2 separate regions of the Homo sapiens genome follow, and region 1 is linked to region 2. Evidence: promoter capture Hi-C in 16 types of primary human blood cells and fetal thymus (Javierre and others, 2016). All regions are on one chromosome and are shown on one strand. Each heading gives the region's core, a stretch centred on a gene start or on the middle of the fragment in contact. The rest is flanking DNA. Distances are from core to core; before and after follow the strand shown. Region 1 overlaps ARID3B (AT-rich interaction domain 3B). Region 2 holds the start of SCAMP2 (secretory carrier membrane protein 2).

What was found. The method cuts DNA at HindIII sites, captures the fragments that hold promoters and counts their contacts. A CHiCAGO score of 5 or more calls a contact.
Region 1: a contact is called between a fragment that was not itself captured here and the fragment with the promoter of SCAMP2 in region 2, in 1 of 17 cell types (total CD8 T cells). The highest score is 5.6, in total CD8 T cells.

The regions. Positions count from the first base shown.
Region 1 is chr15:74,546,413-74,553,347 of GRCh38, forward strand. The region is part of intron 2 of ARID3B (AT-rich interaction domain 3B); the gene reads left to right. Among named protein-coding and RNA genes, the nearest start is that of ARID3B, 8.7 kb to the left of the region's middle. RefSeq lists a silencer at 1-152 and enhancers at 1-30, 1-162. The HindIII fragment of the contact is 1,365 bases long and covers 2,225-3,589 here.
Region 2 is chr15:74,870,022-74,877,388 of GRCh38, forward strand. It overlaps SCAMP2 (secretory carrier membrane protein 2), which reads right to left and starts at 3,344. Exons shown (of 9, transcript NM_005697.5): 1 at 3,178-3,344. The coding sequence starts at 3,234. RefSeq lists enhancers at 1-26, 542-1,527. The HindIII fragment of the contact is 8,993 bases long and covers 1,010-7,367 here.

The DNA of each region.
Region 1 (6,935 bases), core at 1,657-4,156, 320 kb before region 2:
AAAGTGCAGCCGCATGCGAGGAACAAGTGGAGCTCCAGAGCCTGTCTGTCTTCAGGAAGTGTAGCAGGTGTTGAGGTCAAGCCATTAGAGGTTTAAAAAAAGACTCTTCAGAACTGGCGTGTGCATGTGCACACGTGTGCACCGTGGCAGGGCACCCAGCATCATGTTATCTAGATGGTGGCAGCCCTATGACTACGTAGCTCAGTATTCAGGGGGCTGGCTGTTGGCATTTGAAACTCTTTGCGTTCACTTTATGTTTCTGAGGCATATTCACTAATTATAGACTGCTTGGCAGAGCACCTGCCAAAATGTTTTATAAATACCACAGTAGCTGAGGTATAATCCCTCACCCAAAATTTACCTTCCCCCAGGATTTGGAGATCAAGAACTGAACTGGGGGGCTTTGGGTAGCAATGACTTAAACCGTCAGATGTGCACGTCCTTTTCCCCTTTAATTTTTAACATTGATTTGATCTGTGCTCTCCTTTTCTATAAATCCTGATTTTAAAGGAGTAAATCATATGCTTGGGGATTTTAAAACTTTTTTTTTAGTATATTTTAGAAGGGCCAAAAATAATAATATTCTTGGGGAGAGCCTATAGAAACCATTACAGATCATTAGACTAGCTTGTTTTGTTGTTCAAAATCTTTACTTTATGAAACTTAATGGAGTGCAAAAATAGAATATCCCTTGCTCCAGCAACAATTACAAAGACCTTTACAATTGACACAGATCTTTCCCCCCCGCCTTCCCCCTCCCCCGCCGACACAGAGCGCACTCTGTTGCCCAGGCTGGAGTGCAGTGGCGCGATCTCGGCTTCCTGCAACCTCCGCCTCCTGAGTTCAAGTGATTTTCGTGCCTCACCCTCCCTAGCAGCTGAGATTACAGGCATATGCTACCATGCCTGGCTAATTTATTTTTTTATTTTTATTTATTTTTTTGTATTTTTAGTAGAGACAGGGTTTCGTCATGTTGGCCAGGCTGGTCTCAAACTCCTGACCTCAAGTGATCCGCCCGTCCTGGCCTCCCAAAGTGCTGGGATTACAGGCGTGAGCCACCGCGCCTACCCTGACACAGATCTTATTGTTAATGTGATACAGTGTCCATCTTGTTCTTTTGAACAACAAACTTTTACAGAGGCTTCTTTGTGCCAGACCTGTGCTGTATGAAACAAGGCATGTTTCTCTCTCAGGGAGTTCAGGTCTAGCGGTGGCAGTGTGGGAACCTCAAGGGGGATTCGAACTTGGGTTACAATAATTTGATTCTGTCCTGAGTCTACTGGAGCCCAGCCACCCAGTCTGCTATGGCAGAGATATTTTAAAACAGAGTTTTGTTTCAAACATTCACATGCCAAAGTTTAAAAAGTTAATTTTGTCTACAGCATAGCATAGCTTGGCAAACCAACAGGAATACTCAGAAGTATTTTGCAAGATTTTGGGGTAAGGGAGGACAGGCATCTGCTAACTGAAAAGTGAAACTGGGAAAGCTTAAGGGTTCCAGAGATTATTCTTTGCATCTGAAATCCCTTACTTAGAACATGTAAAGTCAAAATTATTTCGTGGATTCTCTTTGAAGAAACTCTTAGAAAATATTTGCTTCTCAAGGCCTGGATTGTTAAGGTGTGGTATTATTCTCTGACACCACAGTGATGGGAAGATGGATAACGCCATTGAGCCAAGTGTTCTAAAACCCATCAGATTCCTATGGGCAGAGTAAATAATTGTAAAACAAGAAAACAGACAAAGAACTGAGTGTTCCTTTTCTCAAAGGAGATCATACAGCCAACTAGGGGATGTTGCTGGCCTTTTGGGGGTGGTGTTCTCCCCCTCTGGTAGAAGGTGGTTCAAGCAGTACAGGCTGGGTCTGTCTTGAGCCCATTGGTAGAGCTAGGTTACTAGAAGGGTGTAGACCCCCTTCGATAGAATAGAAAGAAGAAAGATGGCTTGGCAGGCATGTGGGGCCAGGGTGCATGTGTCCGATTTTCTGCATACTTTGGCAGTCGCTTTGGTTACTGCATGTGGCTGTGATCCAACCACGGGCTTAACATACTTTCACAGCCAATTCAGTTGAAAGCACTGGGAGCCATTGCACAATAAATGTTGGCCCCCTCCTCTACCCTTCCCCTTCTAGCATGTTTTACAAGATTTTGTTTTGTGACTGCCTTCTAGGATGGAAGGGTTTAATTTCAGAATATTTGCAATTAAAGAATTCCTAACGTCCTAAAGCTTGCTAATCACATGTGTTAACAAGGACAGGGTATTACCAATTTCAAACACCTCCAAGCCGCTTGGGGCACCCTCAGCTCATGACAGCGTGGGTTCTCTCTGAATTTGTTGGAGAAGCACTTCTGCAGTACAGAAGCAAAGGAAGCTCCATGACAAATGGGAAGAATTGCCATGTTAGATGGGCACTGGGAGAGACAAAGGGAATGTGATTTGAGAAGAGGGAGTTTCGTGTTTGTTTTTGTTTTTTTGGGGTTTTTTTTGCCTATTCTTAACCATGAGCAAAATCAATCTCATCTTACCGTGAGAGTCGACTTCCTGCTGGGCAATTAGTGGAGACTACTGTCCATTTCTTCTAATGCCATGACTGACTGACTGGTGTCCAGAAGCCATCCCTCTAATTAAGGTGTAGTCCCTTGGGATAGGCCTACTTTTCTTTCTTTTTTTTTCTTTTTTTTTAGACGGTGTCTCGCTGTCACTCAGGCTAGAGTGCAGTGGCATGATCTCGGCTCACTGCAGGCTCCACCCCCCGGGGTTCACGCCATTCTCCTGCCTCAGCCTCCTGAGTAGCTGGGACTACAGGTGCCCGCCACCACGCCCGGCTAATTTTTTTGTATTTTTAGTAGAGACGGGGTTTCACCGTGTTAGCCAGGATGGTCTCGATCTCCTGACCTCGTGATCCGTCCGCCTCGGCCTCCCAAAGTGCTGGGATTACAGGCGTGAGCCACTGCGCCCGGCCGGGATAGGCCTACTTTTCTTGGTAGATACTGCATGACTATCATTAGCTGGGTGTGGTGGCACACGCCTGTAGTCCCAACTACTTCGGCAGGCTGAGGCAGGAAAATCACTTGAACCTGGGAGGCGAAGGTTGCAGTGAGTCGATATCATGCCACTTGCACTCCAGTTTGGATGACAGAGTGAGATGGTGTAAAAAAAAAAAAAAAGGGAAAAAGAAAAGATACAGCATGACTATGGAACATTTGAGGCTTTTTTAAAAAACTGTGCAAAGTATTGCCCAAAAAAGAAAATGTTCGTAGGCTTTCCTCATGTTCTTTATAGAGCTACCTTGCATGCCCTTGCCTTCTGCAGTCACAATGGAATCCATCTAGTTGAGTGGTTCTCAATTAGAGGTGACCCCTGCCCCTTCCCAGGGGACATTTGGCAGTGTCAGGAGACATTTTTGATTGCCATGACTGGAGTAGGGGGCAGTGTGCTATGGGCGTCTAGTGGGTAGACCAGGGATGCTGCTAAACATCCTATAACGCACTGGACAGCCCCCCAACAGCAAAGAGTTATCTGGTCCAAAATAACAGTAGTGCCAAGGTTGAGAAACCGTGCTCTAGATTGTGCAACCAGAAAGAACATAAGCTTCGCTATCATCAGACAGCACCAGAGACTCTTTTCCTTTGTGTTTCAGTCTCAGTAACTGAGGAGTTTGGCAGCCTTGAATTTTCTTGACTTCTGCTTTCAATATCTGTACCGAGCTCATGTCTTTCCTCTAGTCATCTAGGTGAACAGACTGTCACTTGGGAAAGGTTTGGGGCCTAGAACTTGAGATCTCTTACTTGACTCTATCAGTGATTCTTTCAGCCCAGCACTCCATGATATCTTTGATATCTTTGGTGATATATGAGAGAGCTTGGTTGCCCTTGTAGACATTAACCCCAAAAGGTTAAAGTGTAAATACTTGGCAGACTTGTTACCTAGTAACAGATTTAATTATTAAATCAGCATTGGTTTTGGAGCCAGAGGATGTGGATTAAGACCCTACTTCCCGCCAGGCGCAGTGGCTCACACCTGTAATCCCAGCACTTTGGGAGGCGGAGGCAGGCGGATCACGAGGTCAGGAGATCAAGACCATCTTGACTAACACAGTGAAACATCATCTCCGTCTCTACTAAAAATACAAAAAAAAAAAAAGTTAGCTGGGCGTGGTGGCAGGCGCCTGCGGTCCCAAGCTACTCCGGAGGCTGAGGCAGGAGAGTGGCATGAACCCGGGAGGCAGAACTTGCAGTAAGCTGAGATCACACCACTGCACTCCAGCCTGGGTGACAGAGTGAGTGTCCATCTCAAAAAAAAAAAAGGAAAAGAAAAAAGACCCTGCTTCCACTGCTTGCTTGCTCTAGTACTTTGGACAAGCGTTCTAATCTGCCTCTCTGAACCCATGCATCAATCTATTCCAGAGGATGATAATCCTCTCCCGCTATCCTCAGGAAGTGATTTTAAGGATATTACAAAGGTAGAAGAAAAATATGAGTGTGAAAGAGCTTTGCAGGGTTAGGGCGAATTGTCATCAACACCTAAGTCCTTTTTGAAGCTACCGTCGTCCCTCACATGCAGGGGATTGGTTCCAAGACCCCCACATATACCAAAATTTGAGCATACTCAAGTCCTGCAGTCAGCTCTGTGGAACCCACATATATTAAAAGTCAGTCTTCCATATACATGGGTTTCACATCTCGTAAATTTTGTCTTTGATCCAAGTTGGGTTGAAAATAGTTTACATATAAGTGGACCCAGGCAGTTCAAATCCACGTTGAAGGGTCAATCATAATTTTTCAGTCTTTATGACCTTTGTAGATAAGATGCTCCATAAATCCTACCCACTACTCTAAAACAACTCCTTTTCAGGTTTTCTAGAGCCCTGACCACACTCTGGTGTTCTGAAGTTCTCTGAAACCTTTCAGGATTATGTGAGCTTAAACCATGGCGCTTCTGAAGCTGTATCTTTCCGTATTAGCATAGGGATATGTGTGTATTGTTCTTTAGGTAGAAGTAAGCTTTATAGATACTAAGTCCTTATAAATACACAATCACTGACTTGACTTGGGTCCTTACCCTCTCACCAGAGGCTAATTTCTCTACATGTGTCCCAGATCCCATCCCCTTCCAGGTTTCCAGGGACTTGCTCCATCAGTGAACCCTCCATTTCCTGACTCTTTGGGCTCATTCTCTTCCAGGCCTTTTCCACGTTTACGCATCTTCTCTCTGTCAGACTTAAAAACAAGCAAACAACAACAAAAACCTTTAATCTTAAATTTTACCTGAGTCAGTTGTTAACAAGGAAATGAGAGACCACTTTTAAAAAATTTCCTCTTGATTGCACATTATTGCCAGCTTTTTTTCTATTCCTAACTATCCCCCACATCCTTGCAACAAAGCTTCTCAAAGGAATTGGTTTTACTCTTTATTTCCATTTGTCACCTCCTACTCACTCCTCAGCATACTCCAGTCTGATCTCTGTTTCTTCCATGTCCCTGAAGTTCCATGTTGCTAAGCCCAGCCTTCCCTGACCTCATTGATTTCTCAGCATTATTGAATACAGAGCACTCCCTCCTTGAATATTCTCTTCTTTTGCTTTCTATAGTCCTTCATTCTGCTTATGCTTATTTTCTTTTCCTTTTCTTTTTTCTTTCTTTCCTTTTTTTTTTTTTTTTTTTTTCTGAGACGGAGTCTCGCTCTGCCGCCCAGGCTAGAGTGCTGTGGCGTGATCTTGGCTCACTGCAATCTCCGCCTCCCGGGTTCAAGCGATTCTCCTGCCTCAGCCTCTCAAGTAGCTGGGACAACAGGCGCATGCCACCACGCCCAGCTAATTTTTTGTATTTTTAATAGAGATGGGGTTTCATTATGTTAGCCAGGATGGTCTCAATCTCCTGACCTCGTGATCCACCCGCCTTGGCCTCCCAAAGTGCTGGGATTACAGGCATACACCACCACACCCGGCTAATTTTGTATTTTTGGTAGAAACGGGGTTTCTCCACGTTGGTCAGGCTGGTCTCGAACTCCCGACCTCAGGTAATCCACACACCTTGGCCTCCCAAAGTGCTGGGATTACAGGCATGAGCCACCACGCCCAGCCTATTCTATGGATTTTGACAAATGTGTAATGACATGTATCCGCCATTGTAGTATCACACAGAGTAGTTTCACTGTCCTAAAAATTCTCTGTGCTTCACCTATTCATCTTTCCCTCCCCCTTAACCCCTGGCAGCCCCTGATTCTTTTCCTGTCTATGGTTTTGTCTCCTCCAGAATGTTATATGGTGGGATCATTAATGTAGCCTTTTTAGATTGGCTTTCTCCACTTAGTAATGTGCATTTAAGCTTCCTCTATATCTTTTTATGGCTTAGTAGCTTATTTCTTTTTGTGCTGAATAATATTTTGTTTTCTGGACATACCACAGTTTATCCATTCACCTCCTGAAGGACGTCTTGGTTGCTTCAAAGTTTTGGCAATTATGAATAAAGCTATCATACACATCTGTATACAGGTTTTTGTGTAGATATAAGTTTCAGTTTATCTGGGTAAATACCAAGAAGCGTGATTGCTGGATTGTGTGGTAAGAGTATTTTTAGCTTTCTAAGAAACTGCCCAACTGTGTCTCAAAGTGGGTGTACCATTTTGCATTCCCGTCAGCAGTGAATGAGCTTCTGTTGCTCCACATCCTCACCAGCATTTGGTATCGTTAGTGCTTTGGATTTTGGCCATGTTCCTTTAACTGAAATTTTTATTTAGCTAATTATAGATTCACAGGGAGTTGAAAGAAAGCAATGTCATGTACACTTTGTCCAGTTTCCCTATGGTAACAGCATATACAGGTATAGTATGCTGTCATACCTGGATATTGATGTTGACATCATCCACTGATCCTACTTAGATTTCTTCTTCAGTTTTACATGTACTCATTTGTGTGTGTTCTGTTTTTAAGCCAT
Region 2 (7,367 bases), core at 2,094-4,593:
AAGCTGTTTCTCCCCACACCACTGTGTGCCAAGAGGAAAAGCCCAGCCCAGGATGAGGAGGAGCAAATCGCAGCCAGCCAGCCAGCTTTCTTCTTCCCACCCAGGACTCCCCACCAGATGTGGCTGGTTGACAGGACCACAGCTGCTTCCTGTCATGCCATATCCTGGGGCTTCCTGATGGACAGACTGTCTCGCTAGAATGCAGAAGTTACTTCTACCACAGTTTGCACAGTCATTTTTGGAGCCAGAGATGAGGTTTAAGACTTTCAAGCAGCTATTAATACAGGGTAGAACTATCTTGCCCTCTGCTAACACTGGAGCAAAGCTCTCTGCATTTTTAGACAACTGACTTCCTCTCTGTCAGACAGCAGCAGACTTTTTATTTCTGATTCTGAGAGGACAAAAAAACACACATAAAAAATGGAAAATCATCACATACAACATACACCATAAGGCTACAAGATCCTACTAAAACCCAAACCCCAGTATTATACAGCAGTTTTGTAATTAAAGTCTGTTACCAGAAGACATTGGCAGAAAAAAAAAATGCAAATCTTCTTTCTTTACTCAATAGAGATGACTGTTTGCCTTACATAAGAGACAAGGTCCTTGCAAACGCTCTGTCAAGAAACATTAAGCTACGAGAGGAATGTTCAGAATTCCCTGATGTTCTAAGGAACAAGCTATCAGAATTTGCCCTGAGGGCTCCTGTTGGCTAAGACACCTTGAGACCAAGAAAGAAGCAAAACATTTTCACTCTCCTGACAGCGTATAATTATTTAGTTCAAGTCTCCTTTGATTTTGCTCTGACCCTTGAAGCGATTCAAAGTGGGAAAACTCATGCTGTGAATGACAGGAAGGACTCCTTCAAGGACTTCTCTGACACCTGCAGGAAACTTAAAAGCTGCCAATGACCAAAATAAAGGACAAGCAGGGTGAGTTAATGTGCCTGGTGACATCCTGACAGAGCAGAATATCAGGGCTCATAATTCACCAGTCAGCACAAACAAGCTTCCCTAGAACGGGTTTTGAGCAGACGTGAAACAAGAGGCATAGGAGCTCTGGAGGTAACAGTTCAGCCCCTCATGGTGGAAAAAGATCATCCCTGTGCTCTCAGCTGAAAGGCAGAAAGGTGTGGGCTTTAAGTAGGAAGACTGTCCTGTGGCTCATGCCTGTAATCATAGCACTTTGAGAGGCTGGGGCCAGAGGATTGCTTGAGACCAGGATTTCGAGACCAGCTTGGGCATCACAGCGAGACCCCTTCTCTACAAAAATTTTTTTTAAAAGGAGTCAGGCCCAGTGGCACATTCTTGTAGTCCCAGCTACTCAGGAGACTGAGGTGGGATTCAAATAATCATTTGAATCCTGGAGGTCAAGGCTGCCATGACCTCCACTGTGCTACAGCCTGGGCGACAGAGTGAGACCCTGCCTTAAAAAAGGAAGAAAGAGGGCTGGGCGCAGTGGTTCATGCCTGTAATCCCAGCACTTTGGGAGGCCGAGGCAGGTGGATCACCTGAGGTCGGGAGTTCGAGACCAGCCTGACCAACGTGGAGAAACCCCGTCTCTACTAAAAATACAAAATTAGCCGGTCGTGGTGGTGCATGCCTGTAATCCTAGCTACTCAGGAGGCTGAGGAAGGAGAATTGCTTGAACCCAGGAGGCTGAGGTTGCAGTGAGCCGAGATCGCGCCACTGCACTCCAGCCTGGGCAACAAGAGCAAAACTCTGTCTCAAAAAAAAGAGGCCAGGTGTGGTGGCTCACCCCTGTAATCCCAGCACTTTGGGAGGCTAAGGTGGGTGGATCACTTCAGGCCAGGAGTTTGAGACCAGTCTGGCCAATAAGGTGAAACCCCGTCTCTACTAAAAATACAAAAATTAGCCGGGTGTGGTGGTGCACACCTGTAATCCCAGTTTCTCGGGAGGCTGAAGCACGAGAATCACTTGAACCCAGGAGGCTGAGGCTGCAGTGAGCCGAGATCGCGCTACTGCACTCCAGCCTGGGCGACAGAGCAAGAATTGTCTCAAAAAACAAAACAAAACAAAACAAAAAAAAAGGAAAAGAAAGAAAGCAGGAAGATTGTTTCTTCCTTGATTGCTGTTCAAAAGGTCAGGCCAGGCGTGGTGGCTCACACCTGTAATCCCAGCACTTTGGAAGGCCGAGGCGGATGGATCACCTGAGGTCAGGAGTTTGAGACCAGCCTGGCCAACACGGTGAAACCCCGTCTCTACTAAAAGTATGAAAATTAGCTGGGTGTGGTGGCATACGCCTGTAGTCCCAGCTACTCAGGAGGCTGAAGCAGGAGAATTGCTTGAACTCGGGAGGCAGAGGTTGCAGTGAGCGGAAATCGTGCCAATGCACTCCAGCCTGGGCGACAAAGCGAGACTCCGTCTCAAAAAAAAAAAAAAAAGTCAGGCCAGCTCACACGTCAGTGCATCTCAACTATGTTGCCACCACACACAGTTCCATCAGACAAACGTTCCCTGTGGGTCCAGAATTTTTCACAGTCCCCCGCACCTCTCCTCTCTCCCTAACCCGGGCTCTCCTATCTGGTCAAAACCCACTCCAAACTAGACCCATGGCCAAAATGTGGAATTCTTATCAAGGCCATTTTTCAACTTGGGCTACCTTCCCGCCCTCTCCCATCTTTCTTTCCCTGACAAATCTCAGGGGCTCTCCTGTACTTTATACACTAGTTTGGCTGGTGGTGGAGCGGTGGCAGGTGTCCTGGGCTTTTCCCACATTTTTCCCCTCCACCAGAGGCTTCACCACCTCCTCATATGTTGCTGTCACCCCCTCTTCTAAAGTGACTCAAGACAGGTGTCTATCCAAGAATGAGGGAATGCGATAGCCACATTTCGCTTCTCCCTGACGCTAGGAGACTTCCGGAAGGGTCCGACCGTACCTGCTCCAGTCCCCTTCCCTAGCACAGCCCAGCCTCCGGGTGCTAGAAGACCCCACTGTCTCCAACACTTCAGCGCCCCGCCTCCTCTGCAGTTCCACCTGCTGCTAGTCGCGCCCCTCACGCGTTACGATAGGCCAGACCTCAAAGCCCGCTCTCCCATTGGGCAGATGACCCGTCCCTCCTACGCCACGTCTCCCGGCTCTAGCGAGAGGCCCGGGCGGCGGCCGTGGGCCCTAGGGAAATCTGAGAGCTGGATGGCGGGAGAGGGGCTCTACCTGGAAGGGGTTTACATCCACTGGGTCCGCGAAGGGGTTGGTGTCGAAAGCCGACATGGTGATCGGGGGCCAGCGGGCGAACTCCGCGAACGCTGCTGCCTCCGGGCACCCAGACCCAGCGGCGCTTCGTGTAGACCCTCCACTTCCGGGAGCGAGGCAGCGGTTCTGGCGCAGGCGCGATGCCCTCCCCCGAGGGCGTGGCCCTATGACGGCACCGGGGTCGCTCCGCCCCCCCCCCCCCCCCCCCCGCCCAGCCCACAATAGTGCGGTGGGTGGGCATTCGGCTTCCGTCCACATCTTCGCTCTGCTGGGGATTCAGGGGTCTTGGCTGCGCGGAGCGTCTACGGAGCCAGAGGCGTGGCCGGAGTCCTTCCCAACTGCCTATCAATCTGACACCTTCCAATTTTATGTTTCTAAAGCAAACTCTCAAAAGTGGGACAGGAAACAGCCCCTTCACTTCTCTGTAGACCAAGTTTGGGAAGAAGTCCAAACTGATCCCTGGGCAAAGGACAGGGGTGACAGGTGAGGCCAGAGGCCTTGGGAGAACTAGGAAAGCGCTTCTTCTGCAGAACGTGCTCGGGGAAAGAGAAGTGCCAGGACCATCCAGCAGTCCTCCACCCGAGCTGAGCCTGCTTCTTCTAGGGCTGCTCGCCCTCTGATGTCGTTTCATCGTTTTAGGGACGAGGGTTCCTGGGCCCATCAGCTTTGGGACCTGAGTTGGGACTTGAACCTGGACATCAAACATTTATGAAGTGACTCACGGAATTCAGCAACACAGCCTCAATCATGGGGGAGGTGGCTGCTTCACTCTCCACAGCTCCGCTTTCCCCCGCCCCCGCCCCCCACAGGGTCTCACTGTCGCCCAGGCTGGAGTGCAGTGGTGCAATCATGGCTCACTGCAGCCTCGAGCTCCTGGGCTCAAGCAATCCTCCCACCTCAGCCTCCTGAGTAGCTGGGACTACAGCTGGTCACCACCATACCCAGCTAATTTATGGATTTTTTGTAGAGATGGGGATCTCACTATATTGCCCAGGCTCGTCTCAAACACCTGGGCTGAAGTGATCCTCCCGCCTTGGCTTCCTAAAATGCTAGGATTATACTCATGAACCACTGTCTGGCCAAATCCACCTTATTTATTTGGATCTGTCTGGTATTATTCATCTCTGCTGTCACCGAATCCCAGCCACTGTCATTTTTACCCTGAACTAATACAGTGCTGTTAATTGGTCTATTGTTCTTCATGTTGTAATCAAAGATATGTTTAAAGGGGGCAAAATTATCACAGAACTTTGTTAAAATTTTTCAATTAATTTCCATAAAGGGCTGGGTGCGTGGCTTATGCCTGTAATCCCAGTACTTTGGGAGGCAGAGGTAGGAGGATCACTTGAAGCCAGGAGTTCGAGACCAGCCTAGGCAACATACCAGGACCCTGGCTCTACAAAAAAAAAAAAAAAAAAAAAAAAATATATATATATATATATATATATATATATATACATATACATATCTCACACACACACGTAATTAGCTAGGCATGGTGGCCTGTGCCTGTACTCCCAGCTACTTGGGAGGCTGAGGCAGGAGGACTGTTTGAGCTCAGGAGGTCAAAGCTGCAGTGAGCCATCTTTGCACCACTACACTCCAGCTGAGTGACAGAGTGAGACCCTGTCTCAGTTAAAAAAAAAAAAAAAAAAATCAGGCCAGGCAAGGTGGCTCATGCCTGTAGTCGCAGCACTTTGGGAAGCCAAGGCAGGCAGATCACCTGAGGTCAAGAGTTCGAGACCAGCCTGGCCAATATGGTGAAACCTCATCTCTACTAAAAATACAAAATTAGCTGGGTGTGGTGGTGCACACCTGTAATCCCAGCTACTTGGGAGGCTGAGGCAGGAGAATCGTTTGAACCTGGGAGGCGGAGGTTGCAGTGAGCTAAGATTGCAACATTGCACTCCAGCCTGGGCAAAAAGAGTGAAACTCTGTCTCAAAAAAAAAAAAAAAAAATCATAAAGGCCCAAATTCTTAGTTTGTCTTCAAGGTCCTAAAGGATCTGCCCCTACGTTTCTCCCCTTCTGACCCCTTCTAGCCCCCAACCCCCACCCACTGTTCCAGCCATGCAAGTTCTTTTCAGTTGCTCAAACCTTCCTTGTGCCCTCCTGTCTCAGGGCCTTTACACATGTGTTCCTTCTACCTGGTATGCACTTAACCCATGCCCCACTATCATCCTCTGGTTAACCTCTCCTTACCCTTTAAATGCAAGTTCAGATGCCTTTCTTCAGGAGTAGCTTCCCTTCACTCTCTTGGTTACATCATCACCTCATACCCAACATAAGCTCTCCTATTGCCCTGTACTTTTCCTTCACAATACCCATTGCAGATTGTAATTAATACTAGTATAGGTGGTTCTTTATGCCTGTATCCTCCGCTAGACTGAAAGCTCCATGAGGGTAGGGCTGAGGTCTGTTTTGCTCACTGTTGTGTTTCTGTCACTAACATAGTATAAAGCACATGATACACATTTATTAATTTATTTTTTGTGGGTTTGGGGTTTTTTTTTTTTCCAGACAAAGTCTCACTCTGTCACCCAGGGTGGAGTACAGTGGCATGATCTCAGCTCAGTGCAATCTCCGCCTTCCAGGTCCAAGAGATTCTGCTGCTTTAGCCTCCCAAGTAGCTGGGATTACAGGCACTCACCACCACACCCAGTTAATTTTTTTTTTTTTTTTTTTGTAATTTTAATAGAGACTGGGTTTCACCATCTTGGCCAGGCTGGTCTTGAACTCCTGATTTCAAATGATCTGCTCGCCTCGGCCTCCCAAAGTGCTGGGATTACAGGCGTGAGCCACTGTGCCCAGCCCACATGCATCATACACATTTAGTAACTATTTTACTGTTTCCCTGCATCCATTTATTTTGTTTGTTTATTTAGAAACAGGGTGTTACTTTGTTGCCCAAGCTGGTGTTGAACTCCTGGCTTCAATTGATCCTGCCACTTCCGCCTCCCAAAGTACTGGGCCTACAGGTACACACCACTGCGCCTGGTCATCTGTTTCTTTCACCTTCCTCTCCCATCTAAATCCTGACTATCCTTTAGGGTTTAGCTCAGCTTTACTTCGGGAAATATCTGCACACAAGTGGGAGGATGGGGAAGGATCCATTTTGTATCCCCTTAGAAATTGCCTGTCCCCAAGCCTCTATGGCCACCCCTCAAGGGCAGCAGACAGATCTTTGCTGTCTGCTCTCTGCAGCCTCAGAGGAGAACAGTCCACACCCCACAAGGCAGTCCTGCCTGCTCTGGGTCTGCTGCAGCCAAGTACAATGCTGGGCTGGTGAAGAAAGAATGAAACTTAATTACAACCAATGTGGTGGCTGCCCATCTATCTGTCTAATTCCCTACAAGAGAGACATCATTCATTTATTCTACAAGAGAGGAGGTATAGAGAATGCAGCTCTTTGCTTTTAAACCAGTTATTTCACCTCTCCAAGACCCATTTTTCTCATCTTGATCTTGAAACCACCTTTGCAAAAATTATAACTGAGGAAATTATGACAGTGGGAGAGATTAGACCTAACCTACTCCATCTTGCTTCTGACCTTTAAGTGGTCCTTGTTCATTCCTGGGTGTAGGCTGAACTAACCTTGGGAAGGAATTTATAGTTTAACTCTGAAACAAAATTGATTATAGCCCTTTTCCAAAAAAAAAAAAAAAAAAAAATCCCTTCTTGCCTGGGGACCAGTCTGCCTTTCTGGACTAATAAATTAGCTACAAGATTAGAAACTATGGTTTAGGGACCATGCAGCCTTCAGCTGTGAGTCTGAACCTCCCCAGATTGCTCCTGAGAATAACATCACTATTGTAAAACCTAAGATCAGTGCTTGAGATATTTTGCAGACCTTGCACTTGATGGATCTGCTGACACCACCTCCAACAGTAATGTAGCTCAGACAGTTCTGCCATCCCACTCAGGAACAGAAGACAGCAAGAAAAACTCACTTCGACCCCCTATGATTCCATCTCCAACCCGACCAATCAGCACTCCCTACTTGCCTAGCCCCTACCAGCCAAATTATCTTTTTTTTTCTCTCTTTTTTTCTTTTTGAGACGGAGTCTTGCTCTGTCACCAGGCTAGAGTGCTGTGGCACAATCTCGGGTCACTGCAACCTCCAACTCCCCGGTTCAAGGGATTCTCCTGCCT